Regions from separate parts of the Homo sapiens genome. Here region 2 is linked to region 1. Evidence: promoter capture Hi-C in 16 types of primary human blood cells and fetal thymus (Javierre and others, 2016). All regions are on one chromosome and are shown on one strand. The core of a region is centred on a gene start or on the middle of the fragment in contact, and the rest is flanking DNA. Distances in the headings are between cores, read along the strand shown. Region 1 holds the start of OCLN (occludin). Region 2 holds the start of CDK7 (cyclin dependent kinase 7).

Region 1 (4,402 bases), core at 1,694-4,193:
TTCTGGAAGCAGAAAAGTGTCCTGTGAGGACGTGCCTTTCCTATCAAAGTGCTGAGTGCCTGGACCCTCTTTCCGGAGGAAACAGTCCCCTCTGGACCTCGTTCGGCCTCTCTCCATCAGACACCCCAAGGTTCCATCCGAAGCAGGCGGAGCACCGAACGCACCCCGGGGTGGTCAGGGACCCCCATCCGTGCTGCCCCCTAGGAGCCCGCGCCTCTCCTCTGCGCCCCGCCTCTCGGGCCGCAACGTCGCGCGGTTCCTTTAACAGCGCGCTGGCAGGGTGTGGGAAGCAGGACCGCGTCCTCCCGCCCCCTCCCATCCGAGTTTCAGGTGAATTGGTCACCGAGGGAGGAGGCCGACACACCACACCTACACTCCCGCGTCCACCTCTCCCTCCCTGCTTCCTCTGGCGGAGGCGGCAGGAACCGAGAGCCAGGTCCAGAGCGCCGAGGAGCCGGTCTAGGACGCAGCAGGTGGGACTCGCGGCGCTGGCCCGCAGGCTTCCCGCACCCCCTTCCACGTTGGTGCGCATGCCCGGGGGCAGGGCCGGTTGTAGGGAGGAGGGAAAGGAGAGGGAGAAGGGGGAGGAGACGTCCCCAGCCCAGTCCCCGGCTGAGCGCTGGCGGTCGGTGCGGCGTCAGGTGCGCCCGCCAGGTGAGCGCGCTCCCTGGCACCGTTGGCCCCCGGAGGGTCGGGCCCAGTTGCGGCGAGCGGGTGAGTGTTGGGCGCGGCGTCAGGGGCGCACGGGAGCCCGAGGGTCCCCGTGGGGGGACCGCGGCGACTATGTTAGGGGAGGTGCCGGGGGGAGGACGCTCCGCGCTGGTTTCGGTGGCAGTTTCGTCCCCGAGCTGGGACTCGTGGGAACCAGAGAGGCGCGGGTCTGCGGAGAGAGCAGCACCGGCCAACTTGGGAGGCTGCCTCCTGGGGCGAGGGGTGGCTTGGAGCCGCCGATCAAGCTTTATTCCGCGGAAACGCTGAAAGCTAGCAGTGCCTCAGCGGCGCGGGCAACTTTTCACTTTTATGGGGCACGACATTCCTGAACAGCGACGATCCTGCATCCGCTCTGGGGCTGCAGTTTGGGGGGGCGGCCTTCATGGAGAGGGATCCTGCGCCCAGCTCCTTGGGGGTCCTAAGCCTGAGGCTGCAGCGAGGCGGCTGTTCGGCGGCCCGGGCGGCTTAGATCCCGGGGGGAATTTCATTCCTTCCGCTCCCACCCCACCCCTTTGGATATCCCGGGGAGACGGGGGCTGGATTCAATCTGTGAAATATTCCAGGAGTCACGGTGTGGGCCACACTGGCTACTTCGAATCCACTTGTTGCGAGTTGTGTGAACCCGCGTCGATTTAAGCTGGGGGGCGGGGAGTTAATTTCGAGTGAGGCTGGACTTCGAGGGAAGCTGCTCACGCTTCGGATTCTCATCCGTGACCAAAAGGGCTGCCCCCAGGGGGGCGGAACTGCCTCCGGGCGGTGCCTGCCCGGCGAACGTGGGCGCGCGCTGCCTGGGAGCGCCTCGGTGCGCACGGAAGCCGGGACCCGCGCCCAGCCGGGCCACGGAGTTTGGGGACCTCCGGGACTGGGCCGGCCCCGCGCGCCAGCCATGTTGCCTGCGTCGGAGGAAGCGTGCGGGGAGCAGGGGTCGAGGGCCAAGATGGCCTCTGCGCCTAGGGGTTGGGAGCGGCGCCGAGCCCCTCGCGCTCCTCGGGAAGCCACCGGGCCCGAGGGAAAAGCCGCGGCATCCTTAGGCCGGACCCGGGGCTCGCTGGCCACACTGCCCGCTTGGGGAATTACCCTGCTCGAGGAGGAGGCGGCGGCTTTCCAGGCCAGTCAGTGTGTGGCCCTTAGGCAACAGGTGTATTATTGGGATACCTGGAAAAGAGAAACGTTTCCCATGAAGGCACTTATGGTGTTTTTTGGTGATTCTTGGTGTGATAGAAAACTAGGCGTTCCCAAGTGTAACAATAGTAACAGTAGTTCTTTTGCACTGTACATATGAGGTGCTTGTGTGTGTGTGTGTGTGTGTTTTTCCGAGACGGAGTCTGGCTCTGTCCCCCAGTGCAGTGGCATCATCTGGGCTCACTGCAACCTCTGCCTCCCGGGTTCAAGCGATTCTCCTGCTCAGCCTCCCGAATAGCTGGGATTACAGGCACCCACTAGTATGCACAGCTAATTTTTGTATTTTTAGTAGAGACAGGGTTTTGCCATTTGGTCAGGCTGGTCTCGAACTCCTGACCTCAGGTGATTCGCCCGCCTTGGCCTCCCAAAGTGCTGGGATTACAGGCGTAAGCCACCACACCCAGCCTTTATGAATATTTTCTTAGTGGTGCTTTAAAATAGACATCTTAAGTGTGTGTGGGAGGCAGAGATATTTCCTCAAACAAAGCAACACTTTTTTTTTGGTCGTTTTGCAATTTATTTAGTTATTAGGGGCCTCCTTTGTTAGGTGACGGAGCAGAGGATAGGGAGATCGGTAAGACATGATTCTCCACCTTTTGGCAGTTTCCAGGCCATTTCGGGAAATAGTGGGCAGCAGTGCCTCCTGCACGTGAGGCACTGTGGTAAAAGCATTCTGTATTTTCTCATTTAATTATCCCAACAACTCTAAAAGGCAGGCCTTAGTAGAACTCCATTTTAAAAGTGGGCAAATGCCGTGGGGGAAACGTTGCAGGTGGGCTTGCTTGCAAACTGCTTCAGCTAATATGGGAAGGAGTATCAGAAGCAGCGGTCCTTGATATTCCAGAACCAGATTTGGGGAATTTTTCTGGACTTTTCTACCATTGACTAGTAACTGTAGCCTGATACAAGATTTCCCGCATTTTGCTTGATATCAAGGTAAAATTCTTGTTTTCTTCTAAAGGTAGTGTTGGAATTACTACCTTTTCAAAATAGTATATTACTTTTAACCACATAAATGATCTGATGTAATATCTTTCATCTTCCTAGGAACCTCCCAGAAGGAAGTTTTCTTCAGTTGCATTTTAAGGCTTATTTGATTGGAATATTAATGGATCTTTTTCATCAAATTACTATTTATGGAAATAAGAGAGTAAACAGACCATGCAGATTTATGTTAGGCTTTTTGTTTTAACCCCTAGGCTTGCCGCTGTTCCGTAACCCAGTGATTCCAGTCTTGGCTGTGGTATGAATCACTTAGGGATCCTATTAAAACACAGATTCTGATTGGGAGGTCAGGAGTGGGGCCTGGGATTCTGCCTTTCTAACAGGCTCACAGGTGATTCTCAGACTGTTCTGTCTTCTTTTTCTCCCTTTCTCTTAGACTCTACGCACTTAATTACATTTGACAAACTGAAGTTGGAAAAAATAACGTTTATTGAGTGTTGTGTGAAGAACTTCAAGGCATTCACTGCTGGATTGAAATCCCAACTCTAATAATTGACTGTTGGTTTTATTAATTGAGTACTCATTGACAATCACTTTGTGCCAGGGCTAGTTCCAGCGACCAGGGATATAAATGATGGTCAAAATAGACATTTGATGTCTGGGATATGGGCATTCCAGATGCGGTGGAGATGATACCTATATTTTAGGTATGAGGGCAGAGGGGAGTTTGCTCTGAAAAAAAAAACAAGTTTTGTGTGATGGAGTGAGGGACAGGGAGGGCATCTCCCAGAAGGTGACGTCTGAGCTGAGACCTGAACAGCAGGTGTCTGTTGTGTAAAAGATCTGGGCTTTCTAGACAGGAAATTGCAAGATCAATGTCCTTTTTGGATTGACACCTTTATTGTAGACAGCAATTCTCAAAATATGTGATGTGTTTAAAAATCACCTGGAAGATTTATTAAAAATACAATTTCTGACACAGAGTCTATTACAAAATCTGCCTAACTTCAAATTTTTAGACAATTTACTAATGATGTGCCTGTAGTCTAAATCATTTAATATAAGGCACAACTTAAACTTTTTTTTTTTTTTTTGAGACAGAGTCTCGCTGTCTCCCAGGCTGGAGTGCAGTGGCACGATCTTGGCTTACTGCAAGCTCCGCCTCCCGGGTTCACACCATTCTCCTGCCTCGGCCTCCCGAGTAGTTGGGACTACAGGCGCCTGCCACCATGCCCAGCTAATTTTTTGTATTTTTAATAGAGGCGGGGTTTCACTGTGTTAGCGGGGATGGTCTCGATCTCCTGACCTCGTGATCCTCCCGTCTCGGCCCCCCAAAGTGCTGGGATTACAGGCGTGAGCCACCGCGCCCGGCCACAACTTAAACTTTTTAAAGGCAAATTGACAGTTACTGCATGTGCTCTAAAAGGAACAGACTTCTCTTAAATACAATAAAGTTTATTTTTCACTTATTGACAGTTTTCTTTAAAGAATAATTTGAGGCCAAAGCATTTTCAGACTATTTTTTCTTTTTTTATACTTTTTTTTTTTTTTTTTTTTTAAGATA
Region 2 (4,402 bases), core at 1,223-3,722, 260 kb before region 1:
CTCACTGTCTCAGAATATCATCTAAACGCTGTCTTCATTATCCTATTTTAAATGTCCCAGAATGGGAATTTACTTGTCAGCAGCACGCTGTAATACACTGATTATCAACTCATACGCCATGGCACACTTGGGGACCTCAAGTCTCACAACGGCATCATCAGATTTAGCTCACTAGCTTCTCTCTCTCTCTTTTCTTCCTTTCTTCCCTTCTTTCTTTCTTTTGACGGAGTTTTCACTCTTGTTGCCCAGGCTGGAGTCCAATGGTGCTATCTCTGCTCACTGCAACCTCCGCCTCGCGGGTTCAAGTGATTCTTCTGCCTCAGCCTCCCTAGTAGCTGGGATTACAGGTGCCTGCCACCACACCCAACTAATTTTTGTATTTTTAGTGGAGATGGGGTTTCACCATGTTGGCCAGGCTGGTTTGGAACTCCTGACTTAAGGTGATCCACCTGCCTCGGCATCCCAAAGTGCTGGATTACAGGTGTGAGCCACTGCACCTGCCGCTCACTAGCTTATTTCTACAAGTGAGGTTAAATTATTATTTCAATGATACCTGTCAGAAGAAACTATGACAACAGCATCACTAGGTATGACTTGCCTCAAGAGAGATGGTGTCTTTTCTGCAATGTGTGAGTTTTGCCTAGACCCAAGTAATGACAAGGGACTGAAAGATAATGGCTAACATATAGTAAACACTTAACTGTCAAACATTATTCTAAGGGCTTTGCAGGTGTGAGGTCATTTAAGCCTTGGAACAATCCTTTGAGTAGATCCTATTAGGGATGAAGAAACTGGAAACAAAGTAAGTAATTTGCCCTAGTTGTATCTAGTGGCTGAATACTGATAGGGCCACTATTCAAATGCAAGCAGTCTGATTCCAGAGTTAAAAAAAATAACTAAATTATTGGCCTTGGTATTTTGCTACTTTCTTCAACATATCTCTGAAACTTAGGATTTTCAACTCTTAGAAATAACAAATATAGGCTGGGCGCAGTGGCTTACACTTACAAATACCAGCACTTTGGGAGGCCGAGGAGGGTGGATCACCTGAGGTCAGGAGATTGAGACCAGCCTGGCCAACAAGGTGAAACCCCGTCTCTACTAAAAATACAAAAATTAGCTGGGTGTGGTGGAGCAGGCCAGTAATCCCAGCTAATCGGGAAGCTGAGGCAGGAGAATCGCTTGAACCCAGGAGGCAGAGGTTGCAGTGAGCTCAGATCGGGCCAGCGTACTCCAGCCTGAGCAACAGAGTGAGACTGTCTCAAAAACAAACAAACAAACAAAGGCAGGGGGAGGGGGGCACATTTCCATGTTGACAGCTGCTCTGGCTCAGAAACTTTTAATTATCCACTAGTAGAGCCATCTGGATTACTGCAATAGTTCTCTAATAGGCCTTCTTTCTTTTTCTTGTCCCTCAAAATCTATAATATAGTCTCCCAACAGCAAGAGTGAACCTTTTAAAAGTGAGTCAGGTCATATCACTTGTCTGCTCCAATCCCTCCAGTGGGTTTTCAGTGATGACTTTCTTGTACCACCCTATTTAAAACCTCCATCCCTGCCCCTGCCCTGATTTGTTATCCTTTATCTGCTTTATTATCTCTATAGCACTTATCACCTATGTATCATAACACATATTTGACTTGTTTTTTTATCTCCTCCCATTGGAAGGCAGGGATCTTTGCTCCCTGCTATCTCAGATTCTACAATGGTGCTTGGCACATAGATAACACTCAATATCAGCATCCTAAGAGAGAGAAAAATGAAAAAGGAAAAGCACTCAATATGTTTTTGAATAAATGAATTAGTGTGTTTGTTATGACAATTTATGATAATCAAGGGGTTGGGTACTCATTACTGCTAAGTTAATTGAGCACTGTCTCAATTAATTGAGTTAATGTCTAAGCTTTCTGCATGTTTCATTTAATACCCACAATCTCCTGTGATGTAGTTCATTATTTTTTCCATTTTACCGAGTAGAAAACTGAGGACTAGAAGCTGATTCCCACAGCACGTTTCAGTTGAGTTGGATTTTGTTTTCCTGGGCCTGCTTCTTCATAAAGGGACTGGACTAAGAATACTCTTGACCAGCCCGTAAGAACTTGGCACTCGTCTCAGTAATCTGAGATAGCAGGGTTTGGCGTCCATAGCAACCACGGCGACAGGACGCGCTCGAGCAAGAACCAAAAAGCGAGAACAGGTACAAGGCCAAACTTTCTACATTCACAGACACCTACCAAACCCCGAACATGGAACACCAAATTAGAACGCTGACCAGTTCCTGGTAATGTAGAAAACACCCAAGTTAAAACGGCAACAGAGTGACACAGCAGCCATTGAAGATGCCCCACTTCAGGCACCGACAGGCGTCACGTGACGGGTGGGGAACGCCAACCGCCTGGGCCTAGCGCAGCTTCCTCCGCCCACCACGGAAGTGAGGCGGGGATACTAAAGCGACGGAGCCCGGTGGACGGAAGTGGGTGTTGGAGGCTTTAAGGTAGCTTTAAATTCGTGTTGTCCTGGGAGCTCGCCCTTTTCGGCTGGAGTCGGGCTTTACGGCGCCGGATGGCTCTGGACGTGAAGTCTCGGGCAAAGCGTTATGAGAAGCTGGACTTCCTTGGGGAGGGACAGGTGAGGCTCTCTGGAAGGACGGGGAGGGCCCCAAGCGGACAGCCCCGCGCCGCCTCCACCTTTGCGGGTTTTCCCGTGGAGGCCAGAGGTCTGGCTTGGCTGCTCGTTCTCGTTGGGGGAAACCGTCCAGACGCACTTGCTGCCCATTCTTTACATCCTGGGGGTGAATCCCTGAGGGGCCTCTCCTTGCTGAAGAGTAGCCTGGAGCTGGACGGAGACTGACCCGCCACGTTTCCAGCCGCCGCGAGTCTGCTCAGGAACTCTGGGCTCTTTGCTTCGCGAAATGTAAAAATGCAAAAAGGCAAACACAAAAACTCCCATAAACTTATGTTATTTCTATTTTTCTTTCTAGTTTGCCACCGTTTACAAGGCCAGAGATAAGAACACCAACCAAATTGTCGCCATTAAGAAAGTGAGTTACCTTTTTATGTTGTTTTTAAGTCTCCTTGAAGATGTCTGTATTATTAATTGACTGATAGCCATTTTATTAGTCTTGACCATACTCTGATAATGAGTTACTCATGTCATTTTCAGAGACAAAATAATTAATTAGTGCTTTGTGTTCCCAAACGGAACTCTAGGGTTGAACCCGTTTTAATTTCTATTGAAATGAAGAAGAAGCTGTATGTTATTTTTACTGCATAAATTCATATGTTGTGGGCAAGTACTGCCCATCTTTTCGGTCCTCAGAACTATTGGATACCATGATCTTTCTAGGTCACTGTTTATACCTCACCTGCATCCACTCAGTGTGTCGTATCTGTATTTTCTGTGTACGGATTTACCATGAAAGACTTTCACTAGCATGAACAACATTGATGTGAGGTCTAAAATGAGTTCAGTAGCTTCTTATATTCATTCAAAAGACCTGGGTCGGATTCAGTAGCTTCTTATATTCATTCAAAAGACTTGGGTCGGGCCAGCCGCGGTGGCTCACGCCTGTAATCCCAGCACTTTGGGAGGCCGAGGTGGGCGGATCACTTGGGGTCAAGAGATCCAGACCATCCTGGCCAACATGGTGAAACCCTGTCTCTACTAAAAATACAAATATTAGCTGGGTGTGGTGGCACCTGTCTGTAATCCCAGCTACTCGGGAGGCTGAGGCAGGAGAATCACTTGAACCTGGGAGGTGGAGGTTGTAATGAGCCGAGATGGTGCCACTGTGCTCCAGCCTGGTGACAGAGGGAGACTCCATCTTAAAAAAAAAAAAAAAAAGATTTGGGTCATAATTACATAACTCACGTTCACCTACATTGTTTCTTTTAACCTTCAAAACAATCTATAAAGTGGTTAAAAGTAACCCTATTTTATACTTGAGGTACCTGAGACTGAGTGACTAGGTGACTTGTCAAGATCACACAGCTAGTGATTGCTGAAGCTGGGATTTAAATCCAGGTGTCCTGATGTTGCTTTTGTTACCGTTGCTACTTTGAATCTGCTTCTCCTGCTTCAAAAACCCTAACTCCTTGGAAGTTATCCATATTTAACATTAATTCCCCCTTTTTTTGGTCATCTTCCAGCCTCCAAGTACTGTCTTGCATTCATTTAAAACCTGACTGACTACTTCTTCTCAATTATTCCTGCCATAATTTTTTTATTTTTTATTTTATTTTATTTTTTATTTTTTTTGAGACAGAATTTTGCTTGTTGCCCAGGCTGGAGTGCAATTGTGCGATTTCGGCTCACTGGAACCTCTGCCTCCCGGGTTCAAGCACTTCTCCTGTCTCAGCCTCTCCAGTAGCTGGGACTACAGGAACCTGCCACCACGCCCAGC

Evidence for each region. The method cuts DNA at HindIII sites, captures the fragments that hold promoters and counts their contacts. A CHiCAGO score of 5 or more calls a contact.
Region 2: the fragment with the promoter of CDK7 here is called in contact with a fragment that was not itself captured in region 1 in 2 of 17 cell types (neutrophils and erythroblasts); the score reaches 7.0 in neutrophils.

The regions. Positions count from the first base shown.
Region 1 is chr5:69,492,187-69,496,588 of GRCh38, forward strand. OCLN (occludin) reads left to right here and starts at 604. Exons shown (of 9, transcript NM_001205254.2): 1 at 604-714. The HindIII fragment of the contact is 3,979 bases long and covers 955-4,402 here.
Region 2 is chr5:69,232,414-69,236,815 of GRCh38, forward strand. It overlaps CDK7 (cyclin dependent kinase 7), which reads left to right and starts at 2,473. Exons shown (of 12, transcript NM_001799.4): 1 at 2,473-2,628; 2 at 2,981-3,040. The coding sequence starts at 2,563. RefSeq lists an enhancer at 2,195-2,723. The HindIII fragment of the contact is 18,686 bases long and covers 1,902-4,402 here.